5 separate regions of the Homo sapiens genome follow, and all the other regions are linked to region 4. Evidence: promoter capture Hi-C in 16 types of primary human blood cells and fetal thymus (Javierre and others, 2016). All regions are on one chromosome and are shown on one strand. Each heading gives the region's core, a stretch centred on a gene start or on the middle of the fragment in contact. The rest is flanking DNA. Distances are from core to core; before and after follow the strand shown.

Region 1 (3,669 bases), core at 240-2,739, 230 kb before region 4:
ATTTCAGAGGACAGTTACAGGTAGATAAGGCTAAAAATGATGTCTATCATCAAAGACACATCCACACACAAGGAATTGCTAATTTTCTGTAGTATCTGAATGAGCAATATGGCACCAGTCTCTTTGCCAGGAGCACAACAGTCACTGGTGTGTTCTTCCCAGAGCTGAATAACTCCAACATCTGTTCTTGATAATGTTATCAAATGTTCCATTTTAAGAAGTTTTGTTCTTTGGATGCCAAATATTGACTTTCAGAGTGAAATCAGCTGTTAATAGTTACAGGTAGAAGGAAATGGAGGAGAAAATAACGTGAGGACCAAGTTCAGGTGTGCAGGGTTTTGGTTCCCTTAACTACTCCCAAGCAGCAGGTGCCCTCTCAAGCCTACTCCAGTGAGACAGATGCCTAAATAGTAATAAAACAGTGAACTGCTGTGTGAGATTATTAGATTCACATGGCCACGGGAGGACTGAGGCCATGGGGTCTGTTAACTGGAAAACCAGGCCGAAGGCAGAAGAGCCTCTTGTGGTTGTGGCCACCCCTTATCTGTGGGGACATACGCCAAGGCATTTTATGATACCAACTGGCATCATGGTCTGAGCTGCAGCAGCTGGCCTAGGCCACTTTTATTTTTCTTCAAACATACACTTCCTGAGGGCAGGGGTTCATCTCAGTGCTTTTGGCTCTGATATTGTACATTAAGAACGCATACACGCTTTTTGGTGGAATAAGCTGTAATTTTTGCCACAGTGTCTCTGTGTAGTGGTGGTAGTGGTAATTGATCCTGCCGCTGTGAAACTGAAGAGTGGAAAAACAGCATCTGAGCTCCTTCCAGGTCCTTGTACACAGACTAAGTCTTACTACATTGTCACTCGTGTTGCTGCATGAAGTGCCAGGGTTTTTTTTTTTTTTCTTCTTCTTCTTTTGAGACAGAGGCTAGAGTGCAGTAGGGCGATCGCGGCTCACTGCAACCTCTGCCCCCCAGGCTCAAGCCATTCTCGTGCCTCAGCGTACCTAGCAGCTGGGACTACAGGTGCGCACCACCATGCCTAGCTAATTTGTGTATTTTTAGTAGAGACGAGGTTTCACCATGATGGCCAGGCTGGTCTTGAACTCCTGGCCTCAAGTGATCCGCCTGCCTCAGCCTCCCAAAGTGCTGGGATTACAGGCGTGAGACACTGTGCCCAGCCTGAAGTGCCAGTTTTATAGGGGCTCGTTAATAATCGGGTGCCACTGGTTACCACTGGACAACCTCTCAACATGATGTGGAATAGACCCTTCGTATGCGTGCCTCCAGCCCCCTTTCCCAGAGAACCTCTCAGGACTGCCTGCTTACTCCTATTTAAAGGCATCAAAGATTATCCCACTCCTCAATTTCTGGTTTTGTTCTTGAGCACCAGCCAGGGCACATGGTTATAGAAAGTATTTTCAGTGAAATGCCTACAGCTAAGTCTTAACCATTTGTCAAGACTACAAAAGAAAGGGCCCTGTAACCGCATTCCTCTAGATTAAGTAGCATTTAGCTGGGTTACAGTGGAAGATGGTGCTCATGGGGCAGTGTATGTCCCCGTGTGCTCATTGTTGCTATGTTAGTCCCCAAGGGGAAGACAACCTTTCTAGTAACTGTGAATTTCATCTTTCAGTCTTGCAAGGCAGGGGCCTCCTGACTCACCTGTCACGTAACCGGTTGGTCTTTGCTCCAAGTTTTGGGAGTTGCCCGTGTCCCCAGGTTTTCAGGTCACGTTCTGCCTGCTGAATCATTGTTACAAAAGCAAATTTCTCCTACACTTAATGCTAAAATAGTCTTCTTACCCTCATCTGAATGCAAGCACATCATATTAGAGTCATTTGTTGGAATATTTATTTACCATTCATGTCTGCTTTTAAAAGTTCTTAAACCATTCCAGGCCAGGTGCAGTGGCTCACACCTCCCAAAGTAATCCCAGCACTTTGGGAGGCCAAGGCAGGTGGATCACTTGAGCTCAGGAGTTTGAAATCACCCTGGGCAATATGGCAAAACCCCATCTCTACCAAAAATAAAATATATATATATGTTAGCCGGGCATGGTGGCGGACCCCTGTGGTCCCAGCTACTCAGGAGGCTGTGGTGGGAGGATCACTTGAGCCTGGGAGGCGGAGGTTGCAGTCAGCCAAGATCGTACCAGGTGGCACTCCAGCCTGGGTGAGAGTGAGACCCCATCTCAGGGAAGAAAAAAGTTCTTAAAGCATTCTTGACTCTTTCATATTTTTATGAGTGCCAGGGCTGAGCAGGGCCCTGTGAGTGGGTCTCATGAGGTATATTCAGTGTTTAAAACAGACCCCTCACCCAGGCAGAGGCTCAGTCAGATGCCCAAGCCTCATCCTCAGATATCAGGCTCCATGGCTGACCAGTACAGCCTCTTCCCTGGCAACAGCAGCAAGGGAGACAGAGCAAGAAGTAAGGGTGGGCTGGTGAATGCAGAAAAAGGGAGGCTGCCTGGTCAGACTGTGCCAGGTGCCAGGGTGTACACAGCTCTCCCTGAAAGAGGCAGTATAGGTCTCCTTGGTGCAGACAAAGGTACTGATGGCACAGAAGTGAAGAAACTTCCAGTGAAACACAAGCCCCAATCTATGTGACTGGGCTCCTTGCTCTTCCCTGGGCCTTCCTCCACCTCCCAGCTCCTGGCAGGGACGCTGGACCACACATCATTTGGTAGAATGTCCCCGTGACTGGGCATGAGCCAGCAGTTTACTAAGCCTAAATCCATATATCTTCATTTAAAAAACAGACTAGCAAAACTTTCCATTTTGTAAGAAGTATAATTCTGGTGCCTTTAATATGTCCATTTTCAAAGGCAACGCATACTATTAATATTTATTAGAAACTTGACTAGAATTTTCAAAAGAAACGATTATGTTTGGATGTATATAGTAACTAGGTAGTTTGAATATTAATTTTCAAAGCTGGAAATACTATACAACAATAAATATCTCCTTTATTGTTGTTCTTTTACATTGAGTTTAAATCTATTAATATTAGCCTTTTGCTCTAATCCCCTTTCTCCTGAAGTGATTAAAAACTAAATGTCTTTATTAAAGCAGATATACCCTTTATTTCCAGTAATAGTACCTTTGAAGAGCAAGCTAATTAATTCTTTCTAACTGCTTAATGTAAACAAGAAATACAACAGTTTTGTGAGTATTGCTGCAAAGAAGATAATCACAATTGATCTCCATATCACTTAATTAAACCAGGTCATTCATGGAAAATAATTACCTTCCATTATGGTAAAAAGAATTTGTTGAAAACAAAATGGAAATCATCCTGCCTTTAGTGAGGAATGACACCATTAGTGCTGGGTGGGGTTAAGCAGTGGTTTTATCTGAGGTGGTGGCCGTGTAGGGGATGGGCTGTTTACTGTAATTGCTTGAAAACAATGCTGTATGTGAACGATGGTTTTAGATTAATTTCCTGCTTCCTTTTAGATGTCATTTGTCATGTGAGGATCTATAAAAGTTTATTAACATTTAAACACCCACTTAAAGGATCACATTTTGATAGAAAGTCCATGAGGTCTTCTGGAGCCCCGAGTCTGAAAAATCACAGAAAAATACTTGACAAATCATAGAATCCTCAAGTAGAAGAGGGTCATGAGATAAACCCTGTTTGCATTTTAAACCACTGAACAGCG
Region 2 (3,618 bases), core at 937-3,436, 140 kb before region 4:
AGAAACAGGCCCACACATATGGTCATCTGATATGTGACAAAGGTGACACTGCAGTGTCCTGTCTTGTCTTTTCTCTTTTCTTTTGAGACAGGGTCTCACTTTGTCACCCAGGTTGGAATGCAGTGGCACAATCTTGGCTCACTACAACCTCCGTCTCACAGGCTCAAGCCAGCCTCCCACCTCAGCCTCCTGAGTAGCTGGGACCACAGGTGTACATCTCCACGCCCAGCTAATTTTTTGTATTTTTGGTAGAAATGGGGTTTCATCATATTGCCTAGGCTGGTCTCCAACTTCTGGGCTCAAGCGATCCACCCACCTCAGCCTCCCAAAGTGCTGGGATTACAGACGTGAGCCACCACCACCCAGCTTACAGTGTTTTTGCAATAAGTGGTGTAGGTCAATTGGGATATCCATATAGGAATAAAAGTATTGACTCCTACCCCCCTACAACACATATAAAATCAGTTCCAGATAGATCACACATCTAAATGTGAAATGCAAAATAATAAAGCTTTAAGAAAAAAAGTAATGGAACCATCTTCATGATCTTAGAGTAAGTAGAGATTTATTAAGTAGGATATTAAAGAACACTATAAATTTAGGAAAAAATCAATATATTGATTATATTAAAATTAAGAACTTTTCCTCATTAAGAGGCCACAAAGTATTTGTAGTATACACATCCAACAAAAGTTCATATTCAGAATATATGAAGAAATCCTATGGTACGTTAAAAAAAGACAGCCCAATGGAAGAATAACAGAAGAGAATATCCAAATGGTCATAAACATATGAAAAGATGTTCCATTTTATTAGTCATTTGGAAATGCAAATTAAAGCCACAGTGCCATACTGCTACTCACCAGAATGGCCAAAACAAGGAAAGTAGAAAAAGAAAACATGTTGGTGATGTGGAGCAACCAGGACTCTCACCTACTGCTGGCGGAAGTGCAGGGTGGCACAAGTGATTTGGAAAACTGTTGGCAGTAAGTGCTAAAGTCCTTAGGACCCAGTAATGCCCTCCTAGGTTACAGACCCAACAGAAATGCACATTTGTGGCTGGGTGCGGTGGCTCATGCCTGTAATCCCAGCACTTTGGGAGGCCAAGGTGGGCGGATCACGAGGTCAGGAGATCGAGACCATGGTGAAACCCCGTCTCTACTAAAAATACAAAAAATTAGCCAGGTGCGGTGGCGGGCGCCTATAGTCCCAGCTACTTGGGAGGCTGAGGCAGGAAAATGGCGTGAACCCGGGAGGTGGAGCTTGCAGTGAGCTGAGATCACGCCACTACACTCCAGCCTGGGCAACAGAGCGAGACTCCATCTCAAAAAAAAAAAAAAGAAGAAATGCACTTTTGTTCACCAATGGACATGTGCCCAAATGTACAGCAGCACCATTTATAATAAGCAGAGGGTGGCCAAATAACATCCACAGTGGAGTGGAAAAATAAACTCTGGAAGCGGCATGCACGGTGATGAGGACCAACAGTCTATGACGACACACGCCGCGGATGACTCACAAGCGTGATGTTGAGCAAAACATGACAGACAAAAAAGGCCACACGCTGCCATTCACTTATGTAAAGCCAAAAACAGGAAAAACGAGTCTCTGCTGTTTTGAAGTTAGGATAATAGTTACCCCTGGAGAGTTATGGCTAGAAAGGGGGGCAAGAGAGGAGGGGGGCTTCTGTTTCTTCACCTGGATGCCGGTTACGTGGGTATGTTCACTTTGTGAAACTTGACTGAGCTGTGTGATGATGAGTGCTTTTCTGTTTGCGTATTATGCATCAGTAGGAAGTTTTTAAAGCTTCCAAGTAATTCTCATGGGCAACCAAGGATGAGAACCACTGATCTAGGCTGTAAGTGGATTGTGGACTTTAACTTGGGTGTTTTAAAATTATTTTGTGAATGCCTGTGACCAAAACAGAGGGGAGGAGGGCAAGTTTGTATAGAGCTGTGTGTATTTCACCTTCAACACTGCTCTCCGTTGGTTTCTCTCCACAGCTCTGTAGTCCCCATTTCTTAAGCAATTTGTTTGCCAGAAACTGGGGTGAGTGAGTTGTATAAGTTATCTCATTGGAATCTCTCAGCAGCCCTGTGGGTGATATCCCCGTTTTAGAGGTGTGGAAACAGCCTGGAGAAGTGAAGGAATATGTCCAGGGCTGAGTCTTCTAGTGTTGGAGTTGGTTCTTAAAGAGGATGCCCAGCCGGGCCTGTAATCCCAGCACTTTGGGAGGCCGAGGCGGGCGGATCACAAGGTCAGGAGATCGAGACCATCCTGGCTAACACGGTGAAACCCCGTCTCTACTAAAAAATACAAAAAATTAGCCAGGCGCAGTGGCGGGCGCCTGTAGTCCCAGCTACTTGGGAGGCTGAGGCAGGAGAATGGCATCAACCCGGGAGGCGGAGCTTGCAGTGAGCCGAGATCACGCCACTGCACTTCAGCCTGGGTGAGAGTGAGACTCCGTCTCAAAAAAAAAAAAAAAGAGGATGCCCTTCATCACTCCCTTGTGCTCCTTTCTGGGTTGTGGTTTAGCAGCTCCAGAAACAATGTTTCCCAAGCTTGGGCCTTGAATCAGGGCACCAGTGGCAGTGCTCAGCAGAGACCACAGGACTCCAGAAGACTAGAAGATCTGCAGTGCCTTTCTGATTCTCAGAAACACATGGCAAAACCCAGTCATTGCAGCCTCTCTGAAGCATTTTTCCTCCTCTGAGGCTTGGTTTGAATGTTGGGATGATGGGAAAATCCAAGTTATTTAGTATGCAAAGCTCTGCTTATTAAAGCTAGAGAGAAATCTTTTCTTTCTTGGAGAAAAAGGTGACCATGCAGTAGAGGCATTTCTATAAAAGCAGGTATCTATAGAACAATTTCAAAAACACAGAATGTTCTAAAAATAAAGTATACTGAAACAAGCATTAACCAAAAGAGCTCGTCAGATGTCAGCTGTAGACTCAGAAGAATCAGTTTTATGATGAAATGCAGTTGAAACATTTGGATTCCTTTGAGTTTCTTTTCCTGGCACCTATCTTAACTTCCTCTTTAAAACCAAAAGTCTCAATTTTTCTTGTTTTTCAATAGTGAATTATTTACTGAAGAAAACATCAAAACTCTTTTCCACCTCAAACTCTTGTGTTGCCCCTGTAATGGCGACTTCTCCTTTCCCTCGAAGCTTGAGCTTGGCACCAAGGTTGCATCCCTTCAGCATCAATGTCCTGGCTCCCTCCCATGGGGCTCTACAAAGCACTGTCATTTTACTCAGTCTAGCCAGCTCTGGCTCTGTATTCCAAGCCAGGACAATTCTTTCTTAGCATTTCAAAGAATATATAACTCTCCATATTTGTGTAAATCTTTTCAGAAAAGGTTTGTGTCACCCCTGGGAAGCACCCTGGACAGGAGACCTTGAGGGGCCTCTGCACATGGTGTCAAGTAAAGGAGTGGATGTTTACAGAGCTCAGGGACCTGGGAGCTTGTCAAAATAGATGTGGAAAATTAGCTGGGTGTAGTGGCAACATGCCTGTAATCCCAGCTACTTGGGAGGCTGAGGTGAGAGAATCACTTGAACCCAGGAGGCAGAGGTTGCAGTGAGCCAAGATGGTGCCACTGCACTCCAGCCTGGGC
Region 3 (3,490 bases), core at 824-3,323, 170 kb before region 4:
CTGGGCCTGAGGAGCTGTGGAAGCCAGGGTGGGCTCTCCCAGTCCTTTCAGTCATGTTTCTTCTCAGGCTGCTTTCTGTTTCTGTGTCTTTCTCATTCAGCTTTTTCCATGTGGCAGAAAACACATTCACAGAGCTCTCTGAAGTTTTATTTCCATTTTATTTATTTATTTATTTATTTATTGAGACAGAGTCTCACTCTGTCACCCAGGCTAGAGTGCAGTGGTGTGACCTTGGCTCAGTGTAACCTCCCTGCAAACTCTACCTCCCAGGTTCAAGCAATTCTCCTGCCTCAGCCTTCTGAATAGCTGGGAATACAGGCACATGCCACCATGCCTGGCTAATTTTTGTGTGTTTAGTAGAGATGGGTTTTCACCATGTTGGCCAGGCTGGTCTCGAACTCCTGACCTCAAGTGATCCGCCTGCCTTGGCCTCCCAAAATGTTGGGATTACAGGTGTGAGCCACCACGCCTGGCCTTATTTCCACTTTAGCCACCCAGAGTTTAACTCACTTTCTTGTGTGGCCTCCCAAGACCTGTTGTACAGAGTGGTTATTCCTGTGGTAACTTTGGGGGGTGGAGGAGGGCTCAGCAGGGATTTCCACTTCTTGGCCCCAGGTATGCATAATTTGCCCTTTCATTTATTCATCCTCCAAACTGTCACACCTAACATAATCCAGCCATCCCACACCAAGCTGCACACCCATTCCCCCTCCTCAGTGGCAGACAGCCCCAATTCACTTAGCCCCTGTTTACTCATGAACTCCCAGTGGCCTTGTCATAGGGCCACAGTTCTCCAGGCCCAGGTACCTGTGGTTCAGGTGGCTTGTCACCATCTGGACCCTCTGGGCTGAAATAATTCTAACCACTCCCAAACAGTGACCTTTGCATCCCCGGCTAGGGCAGATACCACCCTTGAGGCTTATGTTTTCCTGGCCGATTTATACTCTGATATTAATTTCCTAGTTCCAGAGGTAGAATTAAAAGCACTCTTCTTCCTCAGACTTCAGGCTTTGCACAGAGTAGACTCGGTAGGTGGCAACACAGCTTACTGTCCTTTCTCCCATTCCAGGGAGTGGGCCCAGGCCCTGGCCCTGGGCAAAGCGAAGAGGTGGGATGTGCAAAGTTCTAGCAGCTGTTTCACTCCCTCCGTTGGTGGGTCTCCACCACAGAAAAGGAATACGGGACCCCAGAGTATTTGTCCTGCCACCTCAGGCTGCCCCAGAGAGAGCCTGTGGGGCCTTCCCTTTGAAGGATTAACTAGGCATCCTGGCTCTTACCGAGAGTAGCCGGGCCTTCTGGGATCAGGCTCCCATGCACAAATAACCCCAATCCTTTTACATTTAATGCTCCATACTTCTGTATTTCAAAAATAGCATTTGTGCCAGAATTCAAACTGTTGCAGTATAAGCAAGTTGCATTGGCATTTTTTTTTTTAATTGAAGACCTGGGGAAAAAGCTATTTGTAGGATAGTATGTGACAAAAGAAGAGAAAATCTCATTACAAGGGTGGGGTTGCTGAAGGGACCCCTACCTCAAAAGGGAAATCTTATCCAGGAAACCTTACCAGCTGTCACCTGCATATGCGTCCGTGTGTACATGTGCGCACACACCTGCTCCCATGGAAACCCTGTGGAATGAGGGTACAATTCCTAGCAAAGCCAGAAGACAGGCAGACAAAAAAAAAAATCTGTCCAGTATAATTGTAACCACAGTGGATATCAAATCTTGGATTCTATATTTAATTGATAATGTATATAAGCATTTTTCTATATTGTAGATTTTTCCAAGTGTTATTTTAATGATAATTATTTCACTGAACATATGTCTTTATTTATCTTAGCCATTTAGATATTATTGGAAGTTTGGTTCTTTCCAGTTTTTGTGTTTATAAATGGGACGTCATGAGTATCATTGTGCACAGAACTTTTTCCATTTCTGGAGTTATTTCTTTAGAGTATAGAAGTGGAATTACAGGATCAAAAACTAAGAGCACTTTTATATTTTCCAGAAAGATGATACTAGTAATTTTCAGTGCTACTAGCAATGGATGGGAAATGTCACAGCCTTTGGTTATTTCTTTTAAAATTTTTTTTGTTTTGTTTTAAGTTTGTTGAGAAAAAAGGTACATTTTAATTTAAATTTTATTTTTATTCTAAGTGAGGACCAGTTTGGGGTTATGCTTTTTATTCATTTACTTTTATAACATATCTTTACTGGAATCTTAGTGTTTTATTTTATAAATTCTTTGTATAATGAAAGCTGTTTTTCCTATTTTGCTTTAAGCATTTTCCCCTAATTCTTTGCTTTTTAAAATTTCATGAATGTGTGTATGCGTGGGTATTGGCATTCTTTTTTATCATAACGTCTTATGAGATGCCCAGGTTTTAGAGAATAGAATAGGCCCAAGAGAAGGAAGTCAGAAAGCTGAGCATACTTTGCCCCTCTGTTTCAGTGGAGGTTGCCCATGGATTATTTCAGAATTCTTGTCCTTGTAATGTTAGGTCATGAGCCTGCCTGTCTGCAGGCAGGATCACTGCTTAGAGTGAGGTGACCTGGGTTCTAGTCCTGACTGAGTGGGAATTTAGGCTCTCCACCTTCCATTTCTTCATCTGTAAAATGGAGGGTTTTAGTAGGATAACCTTGGGAGTGGGGGGTCTGTGATTGTACATGCCCAAGGTGAAGAATCATATCAACATTAAGAGTCTTCTACATCTCGTTGCAGATTTTTGGAAGTACCAGCACAGTGACGCTTCCTGAAACCTTGTTGTTTGTGTCAACGCTGGATGGAAGTTTGCATGCTGTCAGCAAGAGGACAGGCTCAATCAAATGGACTTTAAAAGAAGGTAATTTGGATTTGGTCCTTGGGCGACATGGACATTTGCTTAACTGGTTCCACAGAAACATATTCTGGAGAAAGAGAAAACATTACTCATTATCTAATAAAATAAATAAGAAATAAAGAAGAATGGGATCAAGAGAGGAAAAGGCATTCTGCTCAAAGGACGTTTATAGCTTTGCTGTGGTTATCCACTAAGTGCATCAGTTAAAGAAGCACGTTTTATCTTCTTTTTTGCTTCTGTTTAGACTTCATGTTAAAATGGCTCTAGGCTTTTCTATTAATAGCTCTAGCTAGTTGGTCTTTATGAAGACATGCTGCACTAAATTTGTTCTCATGATTAGAATCTTGTAATCATAATTACAAGAAGGTATCTTCTCAACACCTCAAATTACTCATTTGTTTTTATAGAGGCTGAAATAATAGAGGGCTGTAAGATTTGACATTCATCCAAGTTAACCACTTTATTGGGTTGTTATGGTGAGGGGAATAAAGACTGAGCTTCTTTCTTACTTAACATACCATGCGTCCATGTTATGATCTGATCTTCCTGGTGGTAACTAGCAGAGTCAAGCCCTACAGCTGGGAAATTGTATTTGATTTCCAAAGTAATCTTTCCAGATAAAGCCATGCAAATCCCAGGATTTGGGACTT
Region 4 (3,874 bases), core at 1,189-3,688:
AGCTCTTCTTTCCCTGAGGTTCTTCCCCCTCCCGGCATCCTAGGGTGGCTGGGGGTCGCTGCCTTCTTGCTTCCCCACCCCCTGAGCCCCTTGTCCCTTCGCCCGACCCTGGCCCCCATTCCTTATTTTGATGTTGCCTTCCTGGAAAGGGAGGTGTCGTCAGAAGTCAGAATGTGAAGCCCCGGGCAGCCGAGGGCAGAGGCAGGGGTAGGCTTGTGAGGCCTCCTGTTCTGGGAAGAAAAGGGCATCATGAGCCCAAAATGGGGCTCAGGGCTGTTGTCACCAGTGAGGGAACAGCACGGCTCAAAATGTGACAAATAACCCTGCAGGCGGTGGGGCCCCCGCTGCCTCCGCCCCTCCTGAAAACAGATCCCTGCCCGGCATGAATGGGAATGAAGCCCAAAGGCCACATCTGCATCCTTGTCCACGGGATGTGTGTGTCTTCCCTCCCTGGAGTGGGAGCTGCTTCTCACTTGTTTTTTTAAATTTTTTATTTCAATATTTTCTGGGGTACAGGTAGTTTTTTTGGTTACCTGGATAAGTTCTTTAGTGGTGATTTCTGAGATTTTAGCGCACCTGTCACCTGAGGATGGGTGCCAACTGCCCCCCACCAACCTCCGTGCCCCCTACAGTCCGCTGAGCCCTAGGACCAGCTCCAGAGTAGGCCCCACACCACAGGGTCCAGGCAACACACCTGTGTGAGCATGCACATACACACACACACACACCCCCCACAAACACGTGTGCCCCAAGCCTTTCCCAGTTATACCCCCCAACTTTGGGGAGACACTAGCCCCAAAGTTAATGAAGGACTCTGTCGTTAGGGGCTCAGGAAGAGTATTTCCTAAACCATGAGACTCCCAGATTTTGCCCCACTCCCCCCGGGTCAGTCTCTCTCCAGCCACCCTCACCAGCATGCGGGCCCATGGGCCTCAAGCTGACCTCAGGTGATGTTTATATTTCTGAGCTGTTTATTCCATGAACTGAACATCTGACAGCTTTTCAGAGAAATGTTTTTTCATTTGGAACATCTGGAAACAAGAAAGAACATCTGGGGCTGCCCGGAACGGGCTGTTCCTCGGATGAAACCTTAACCCTCCTGCCCCTGACTTCCGTGGCTCAGGTCCTGGCCTGCACCCCTTGAGAGTGGCCCCCACCTTATCAGGTCCGAGGCCTAGGCCAAGATCTAAAGAGGGACCACCCAGACCCTCTGCCTTCCAACCATGGCATGGGAGGTGGTTCTGCTTCTCCCTAAATCCAGACAGACCTGCCCCAGCACAGACTGGAAAACGGAGGGTTGTGAGGAGAGTGAGAGGTGGACAGAGGGCACCGACGATTTAGCATCTCTTCCTCTCCTGGGGGTCGAGGATGAGAGACAAAAAAGAAGCTGCCAGGAAACATAAAATTCAGAGGGCTCAGCTGCAGGGCTGAGGTCTGCAAGCATGCTGTGTACACTTGTGCATGTTGTGCCCTGCACAAGGGCATCTCTGAAGGGGCTGCATTGGACCCAGGGGCAGGGGCGCAAAGGTGAGTTTATATCAGTTCCTGAGCACTGTGGCTCCATCCAGCACTCTGAGGACAGGCAGGATACAGCTGGAGGACCTGAGGGCTCCCCCACACCAGCTCCTGTTCCCTGCCCAAGACCCCCTGGACCTGCAGACAACAATTCAACGCACTCAGAGTCCCACAGTTAAGAACTCCCTGAAGAAGCCCCCAGTGGCTGCGTGGTGGATTTTCGCAAAGCTGTCTCCACCTACATCCACCCTGTTTGGCAGCCCCTACATACTCTTTCACAGCATGAGGAAGGGAGGCCTCTCACCAAGACCTGGACTGAATCTTCTCCCAGTGGCTGCCACACTTGACCTGCTCTTGCTCCAGAACCTCTGTGGCTCCCATCCTCCACAGGGTCAACTTCCAACATGGCTGCCTGCACTCCAGCCAAGAGGCTCTGCTCTGGGCCCCTCCAGATGCCTGACCTGGGTCTGTGGCTGCCCTGTCCTTCTTCAGTGCTCCTCTTCCCGCTGGGTGAGGAATAGTTCAGGACAGAGGAGCTAAGTTCAGGTTCATTCATAGGACAGGTGCCTATTTCGCTCACGGCCCAGGAATAGAGACTTGCCGGGCTCGGCCCTTCGGGGAGTTGGCAGACGGCAGAGGGGAGGCTGGCTGGCCCAGGGGATGACCACCGGTGGGGTAAGCACAGACAGAGGGGAGCACAGGCTTCCCCCAGAAGACTGAGAGGCCCCCCAGAGGCATCCACAGAGGACCCCAGCTGTGCTGCCCAAGCTGGGCGACCGCCAAACCTTAGCGGCCCAGCTGACAAAAGCCTGCCCTCCCCCAGGGTCCCCGGAGAGCTGGTGCCTCCCCTGGGTCCCAATTTGCATGGCAGGAAGGGGCCTGGTGAGGAAGAGGCGGGGAGGGGACAGGCTGCAGCCGGTGCAGTTACACGTTTTCCTCCAAGGAGCCTCGGACGTTGTCACGGGTTTGGGGTCGGGGACAGAGCGGTGACCATGGCCAGGCTGGCGTTGTCTCCTGTGCCCAGCCACTGGATGGTGGCGTTGCTGCTGCTGCTCTCAGGTACAGAACCCACGACGAGGCCTGTGGGGTTTGCTCTCATCTCCAGCTGTCTGGGCCCTGCGGCTCTGCCTCCTGCTTGCTCCACCCTCCTCCTCTGTCTCTCACTCTTTACCGCCTGTCTCCCTCTCATGGCCCTGGGGCCTGGGTCTGTGGGTGTCAGCTGCACGTGGTGATGGGCTCAGGAGCCTGTGGCCCCAGTTCCTCTCCTGCCTGGAGAGCATCAGGCTGAGCTGGGCATGAGGAGCAAACCAGAGTTAGCAACCAGGACCGTGGAAGAACTAGGCTCAGGAGGAAGAGAGGCTGAGGGCGGTGCCTGGGGGTCGGGAGGGGAGAGGCTGTCCCAACCGGACCCTGGAAGATGCAAGATCCAAATGTGGTCCCCTCCTCTGGGAGGTGAAAGATCCTCCGGGCTGTGACTTTCTTCCTGTCTCTCTTTAAAAAAAAAAAAAAAAAGAGAGACAGGGTGTCCCTATGTTGCCCAGGCTGGTCTCAAACTCCTGGACCCAAGCGATCCTCCTGTCTTGGCCTCTCAAAATACTGAGATTTCCCTGTCCCTCCTGTCTCATTCAGATGCCTGCTCAAAGCCACCATGAGGGTCAAAGGCAGAAAGGGGGCTGGGGGCAGGGCTTCCGGTACCCCCACCCCATATCTGTCTCCCAAGTACTGGGGGCAGGGAGGACCGAGGGGTCTTGAAGCTGCTGTCATGGAAGGAGGAAGTAGCTCCGGGAACATAGAGGGCATGCAGGGGTGGGGCAGCCCAGGCCAGAGGAGGCCCTGACTGGCCCCGCCCACTTCCTCCCACCCAGCAGCTGAGCCAGTACCAGCAGCCAGATCGGAGGACCGGTACCGGAATCCCAAAGGTCAGTAGCCTCGCCTGCCGCTTCTGAGGGCAAGTTGTGTGCGACTATGTCCTGTGTCCGACTATGGTCCCTGTCCTGGGGGCGGTCCGCCTTCCCACCCTTGCCTGATCTCCCCATCCAGGATTCCCATCCCCAGGCCTCCTTAGGATCTCCTCTGAGCCCCACCCCCAGCCCACTGTCATCCTCATCAGACACATGCCCTCCAGCCTTGGCCACTGAAGGGCTGGGCTAAACTCTGGGTCATAGCAAGGGAGCCTGGGGGTTCCTCTAGGACTCAGGCCCGGGCCTGTCTAGCTGGGAATCTGGCTGAGTCTCGGGTGAGCCCTCCAGTGCAGGGTCACTATGTGAGGGGCTCAGGGATTCCCGGGCAGTGCTCACTAAGAACAAGGCAGTCGAAGCTGGAAAGAGGGTTCTGGAACAAGAAGTGGACCCAGTCCCTG
Region 5 (3,683 bases), core at 467-2,966, 210 kb before region 4:
TTTAAATTCAAAAAATTCCTCTTTGGCCGGGCGCGGTGGCTCACGCCTGTAATCCCAGCACTCTGGGAGACGGAGGCGGATGGATCAGGTCAGGAGTTCAAGAACAGCCTGGCCAACATGGCGAAACCCTGTCTCTACTAAAAATACAAAAATTAGCCGGGCGTGGTGGCAGGCCCCTGTAATCCCAGCTACTCAGGAGGTTGAGGCAGGAGAATCGCTTGAACCCGGGAGGCGGAGGTTGCAATGAGCTGAGATCGCGCCATTACACTCTAACCTGAGCAACAGAGCGAGACTCCATCTCAAAAAAAAAAAAAAAAACCTCTTTAATCCAAAGCAATAATGACTTTGACAAGTGTTTAGTAGTCTCTATTTATTTTTGTTGCTGTTTTAACTTTCGTTATCTCAACATTTATTACATTATGGTACAGTTTCCGCATTGGGCAATGTATGAAAGTTTTCTTTGTGACCTAAAATATCAGTTTTTATAAGTGTTCCACAGATTGTTGAAACGAAGATGTTTTCACTATCAAGTACAAACATGGTATAAAATATTTATTTATTAATTCAACCTTAGTTGTGTTGTAATTACATTGTCCACAGCTCTGCTTTGTGTATTATGTACTTGCTTGGAAGTTGGCTGTTGGCTTTGATTGTGATGTGTTAAGATTATGCCTCAAATACCAAATGCCAGTGAGGATGTGGAGCAACAGAAGCTTTGCTCCATTACTTGTTTCGTTTTGTTTTTTGAGACAGTCTCACTCTGTTGCCCAGGCTGGAGTGCGGTGGCACAATCTTGGCTTACTGCAACCTCCGCCTCCCGACTTCAAGCAATTCTCCTGCGTCAGCCTCCCCAGTAGCTGGAATTACAGGCATGCACAACCATGCCTGGCTAATTTTTGTATTTTTAGTAGAGATGGGGTTTTACCATATTGGCCAGGCTGGTCTCAAACTCCTGACCTCATGATCCTCCCGCCTCAGCGTCCCAAAGTGCTGGGATTACAGGCGTGAGCCGCCGCGCCCGGCCTGCTCTTTTCTTTTCTTCTCCTCTTCTCTTTTCTTTTCTTTTCTTTTTTGAGACAGAGTCTGGCTCTGTCGCCCAGGCTGGAGTACAGTGGCACTATCTTGGCTCACTGCAACCTCTGCCACCCGGGTTCAAGCGACTCTGCTGCCTCAGCCTCCCTAGTGCTGGGACTACAGGCACGGACCACCATGCCCGGCTAATTTTTGTATTTTTAGTAGAGACGGGGTTTCACCATGTTGGCCAGGCTGGTCTTGAACTCCTGACCTCAAGTGATCCACCCGCCTCAGCCTCCCAAAGTGCTGGGATTACAGGCATGAGCCACCGTGCCTGGCCTGCTTTTTTATTTTCTTGACAGTGTCTTTCAAAGAGGAGACATTTTTAATTTTGATGAAAATCTAATTTATCAATTTTTTAATAGACAGTACTTCTGGTTTCATATCTAAGAAATCTTGGCCTAATACAGATTTTTCTTTTATATGGTTTCTTCTAGAAGTTTAATTTAATTTAATTTAATTAATTAATTAATTTATTGAGACGAAGTCTCGCTCTGTCACCAGGCTGGAGTGCAGTGGTGCGATCTCAGCTCACTACAACCTCTGTCTCCCAGGTTCAAGTGATTCTCTTGCCCCAGCCTCCCGAGTAGCTGGGATTACAGGCGCACGCCACCATGCCTGGCTAATTTTTGTATTTTTAGTAGAGATGGGGTTTCACCATGTTGGCCAGGATGATCTCAATGTCTTGACCTCGTGTTCCGCCCACCTTGACCTCCCAAATTTCTTGAGATTACAGGCGTGAGCCACTGCGCCCGCTCTTCGAGAAGTTTTATAGTGTTTGCTCTCGCATTCAGGTCTATTATCTTTTTCAAGTTAATTTTTGTGTCTAGTGTGAGACAAGAGTTAGGTTCATTTGTTTGTATATGGATATTCACTTGTTCCAGCACCATTTGTTGAAGAGGATATCCTTTCACTTAAAGTACCTTGTCATGTTTGTAAAAAAAAAAAAAATTGACCATATATGAGTTGGTTTGTTTCTAAGCAGTATCTTCTTTTGCACTGTTATTTATCTACCCTTTATTACCATTGCTTTATAGTACATCTTAAAATCAGATATACAAGATCTGTAACTTTGTCCTCTTTCAAAATTATTTTGACTATTTTAGGTTGTTTGTATTTCCAGAAACATTTTAGAATCAGCTTGTCAATTTCTACAGAAGACCAGTAGGAATTTTGCCTGAAATTATATTGAATCTGTAGATCAATTTGGGAATAATTGACATCTTAACAACACTCAGTCTTTCATCCCATGAATACAGTATATTTCTTCATTTAAGTCTTATTCATTTCCCTCAGCAATGTCATAGTTTTCATTGTACAATCTTGCATATATTTTGTGAAATTTATCCCTCAGGATTTCATTTATAATGCTATTATGAATGATACTATATTTATTCTTTTTTTTTTAGTCAAGCCTCTAACATGAGAGATACTATTTTTAAATTTCAATTTCCAAGAGTTCATTGCTGGTATATAGAAATGCAATTTCTATTAATTTAAATCTAATTTTACTAAAATCATTTTAATAAATTTTTGTAATTTGGTAAATTTTTGTAAATTGATTCCATCTTCTGTAGGGTGGGTACAATCAAAGGTGAACTTGAGAACTGGCTTCTATTTTTTGCCCCACCTCATCACAAGCTTTTTCCACAGGTGCCCTGGAAGCAGTTGAGGCAGAAAAGGCCCATGGGTTATTTAGAAGAATGATGTTAATTTCCAAATAGTGACCGGGAATGGTGGCTCACGCCTGTCATCCCAGCACTTTGGGAGGCTGAGGTGGGCGGACCACAAGTTCAGGAGTTCGAGACAAGCCTGGCCAATATGGTGATTACAGGCACATGCCACCATGCCCAGCTAATTTTTTTTTTTTTGTATTTTTAGTAAAGACAGGGTTTCACCATGTTGGCCAAGCTGGTCTTGAACTCCTGACCTCAAGTGGTCCACCCACATCGGACTCCCAAAGTGCTGGGATTACAGGCATAAGCCACTGCACCTGGCCTATATTTTTAAATATTTATTTATTTATTTATGTGTTTTTATTTTATTTTTGAGACATGGTCTCACTCTGTCACCCAGGCTGGAGTGGAATGCAGTGGTGCAATCATGGGTCACTGCAGCCTCACCCTCCTGAACTCAAGAGATCCCTGGGCCTCAGCCTCCTAAGTAGCTGGGACTACAGGAGTGCACTACCATGCCCCGCTAAGTTTTTAAATTTTATTTTAGAGACAGAGTCTCATTATGTTGGCCACACTGGTCTTGAACTCACAGTCTCAGGCAGTCCTTCCCCCTCTGCCTTCCAAAGTGCTGGGATTACAGGTGTGCGCCACCATGCTACCCTCCTTTTTTTTTTTTTTAAATTGGCAACACTTCATTCCATAAAATAGAATAAGTGTTTCCAGAATGTGTATTCTTTTGTTGTTGGGTATAATGTTTTATAAGTGTAAAGGAGATCAAGGTAGTTGATAGTGTTATTCAAATCTCAATGGGAGGGTGGCGATTTTGCCATCCAGGGAACATTTGGCAATATCTGGAGACATTTTTGTTTTTCACAACTAGGAGGGATGCCCTGACACCTATTAGGTAGTGTTATGGGTTGTATCCTCCAAAAG

Evidence for each region. The method cuts DNA at HindIII sites, captures the fragments that hold promoters and counts their contacts. A CHiCAGO score of 5 or more calls a contact.
Region 1: a contact is called between a fragment that was not itself captured here and the fragment with the promoter of CD79B in region 4, in 3 of 17 cell types (total CD4 T cells, non-activated CD4 T cells and naive CD8 T cells). The highest score is 5.9, in total CD4 T cells.
Region 2: a fragment that was not itself captured here is called in contact with the fragment with the promoter of CD79B in region 4 in 6 of 17 cell types (total CD8 T cells, total CD4 T cells, naive CD4 T cells and 3 more); the score reaches 7.4 in total CD8 T cells.
Region 3: a fragment that was not itself captured here is called in contact with the fragment with the promoter of CD79B in region 4 in 1 of 17 cell types (total CD4 T cells); the score reaches 5.1 in total CD4 T cells.
Region 5: a fragment that was not itself captured here is called in contact with the fragment with the promoter of CD79B in region 4 in 7 of 17 cell types (total CD4 T cells, non-activated CD4 T cells, total CD8 T cells and 4 more); the score reaches 10.4 in total CD4 T cells.

Annotation. Positions count from the first base shown.
Region 1 is chr17:64,161,675-64,165,343 of GRCh38, reverse strand. All of the region lies in intron 7 of TEX2 (testis expressed 2), which reads left to right. Among named protein-coding and RNA genes, the nearest start is that of SNORA50C, 17 kb to the right of the region's middle. The HindIII fragment of the contact is 7,291 bases long and covers 1-3,669 here.
Region 2 is chr17:64,075,472-64,079,089 of GRCh38, reverse strand. All of the region lies in intron 4 of ERN1 (endoplasmic reticulum to nucleus signaling 1), which reads left to right. Among named protein-coding and RNA genes, the nearest start is that of ERN1, 53 kb to the left of the region's middle. The HindIII fragment of the contact is 755 bases long and covers 1,809-2,563 here.
Region 3 is chr17:64,097,474-64,100,963 of GRCh38, reverse strand. ERN1 (endoplasmic reticulum to nucleus signaling 1) reads left to right here. Exons shown (of 22, transcript NM_001433.5): 2 at 2,723-2,843. Among named protein-coding and RNA genes, the nearest start is that of ERN1, 31 kb to the left of the region's middle. The HindIII fragment of the contact is 5,385 bases long and covers 1-3,490 here.
Region 4 is chr17:63,930,895-63,934,768 of GRCh38, reverse strand. CD79B (CD79b molecule) reads left to right here and starts at 2,438. Exons shown (of 6, transcript NM_000626.4): 1 at 2,438-2,574; 2 at 3,384-3,434. The coding sequence starts at 2,508. RefSeq lists enhancers at 783-1,187, 1,762-1,811, 1,822-1,931, 1,788-2,458, 2,432-2,821 and 2 more and a silencer at 3,519-3,588. The HindIII fragment of the contact is 15,563 bases long and covers 1-3,874 here.
Region 5 is chr17:64,141,271-64,144,953 of GRCh38, reverse strand. No RefSeq gene overlaps it. Among named protein-coding and RNA genes, the nearest start is that of SNHG25, 2.9 kb to the left of the region's middle. The HindIII fragment of the contact is 2,002 bases long and covers 716-2,717 here.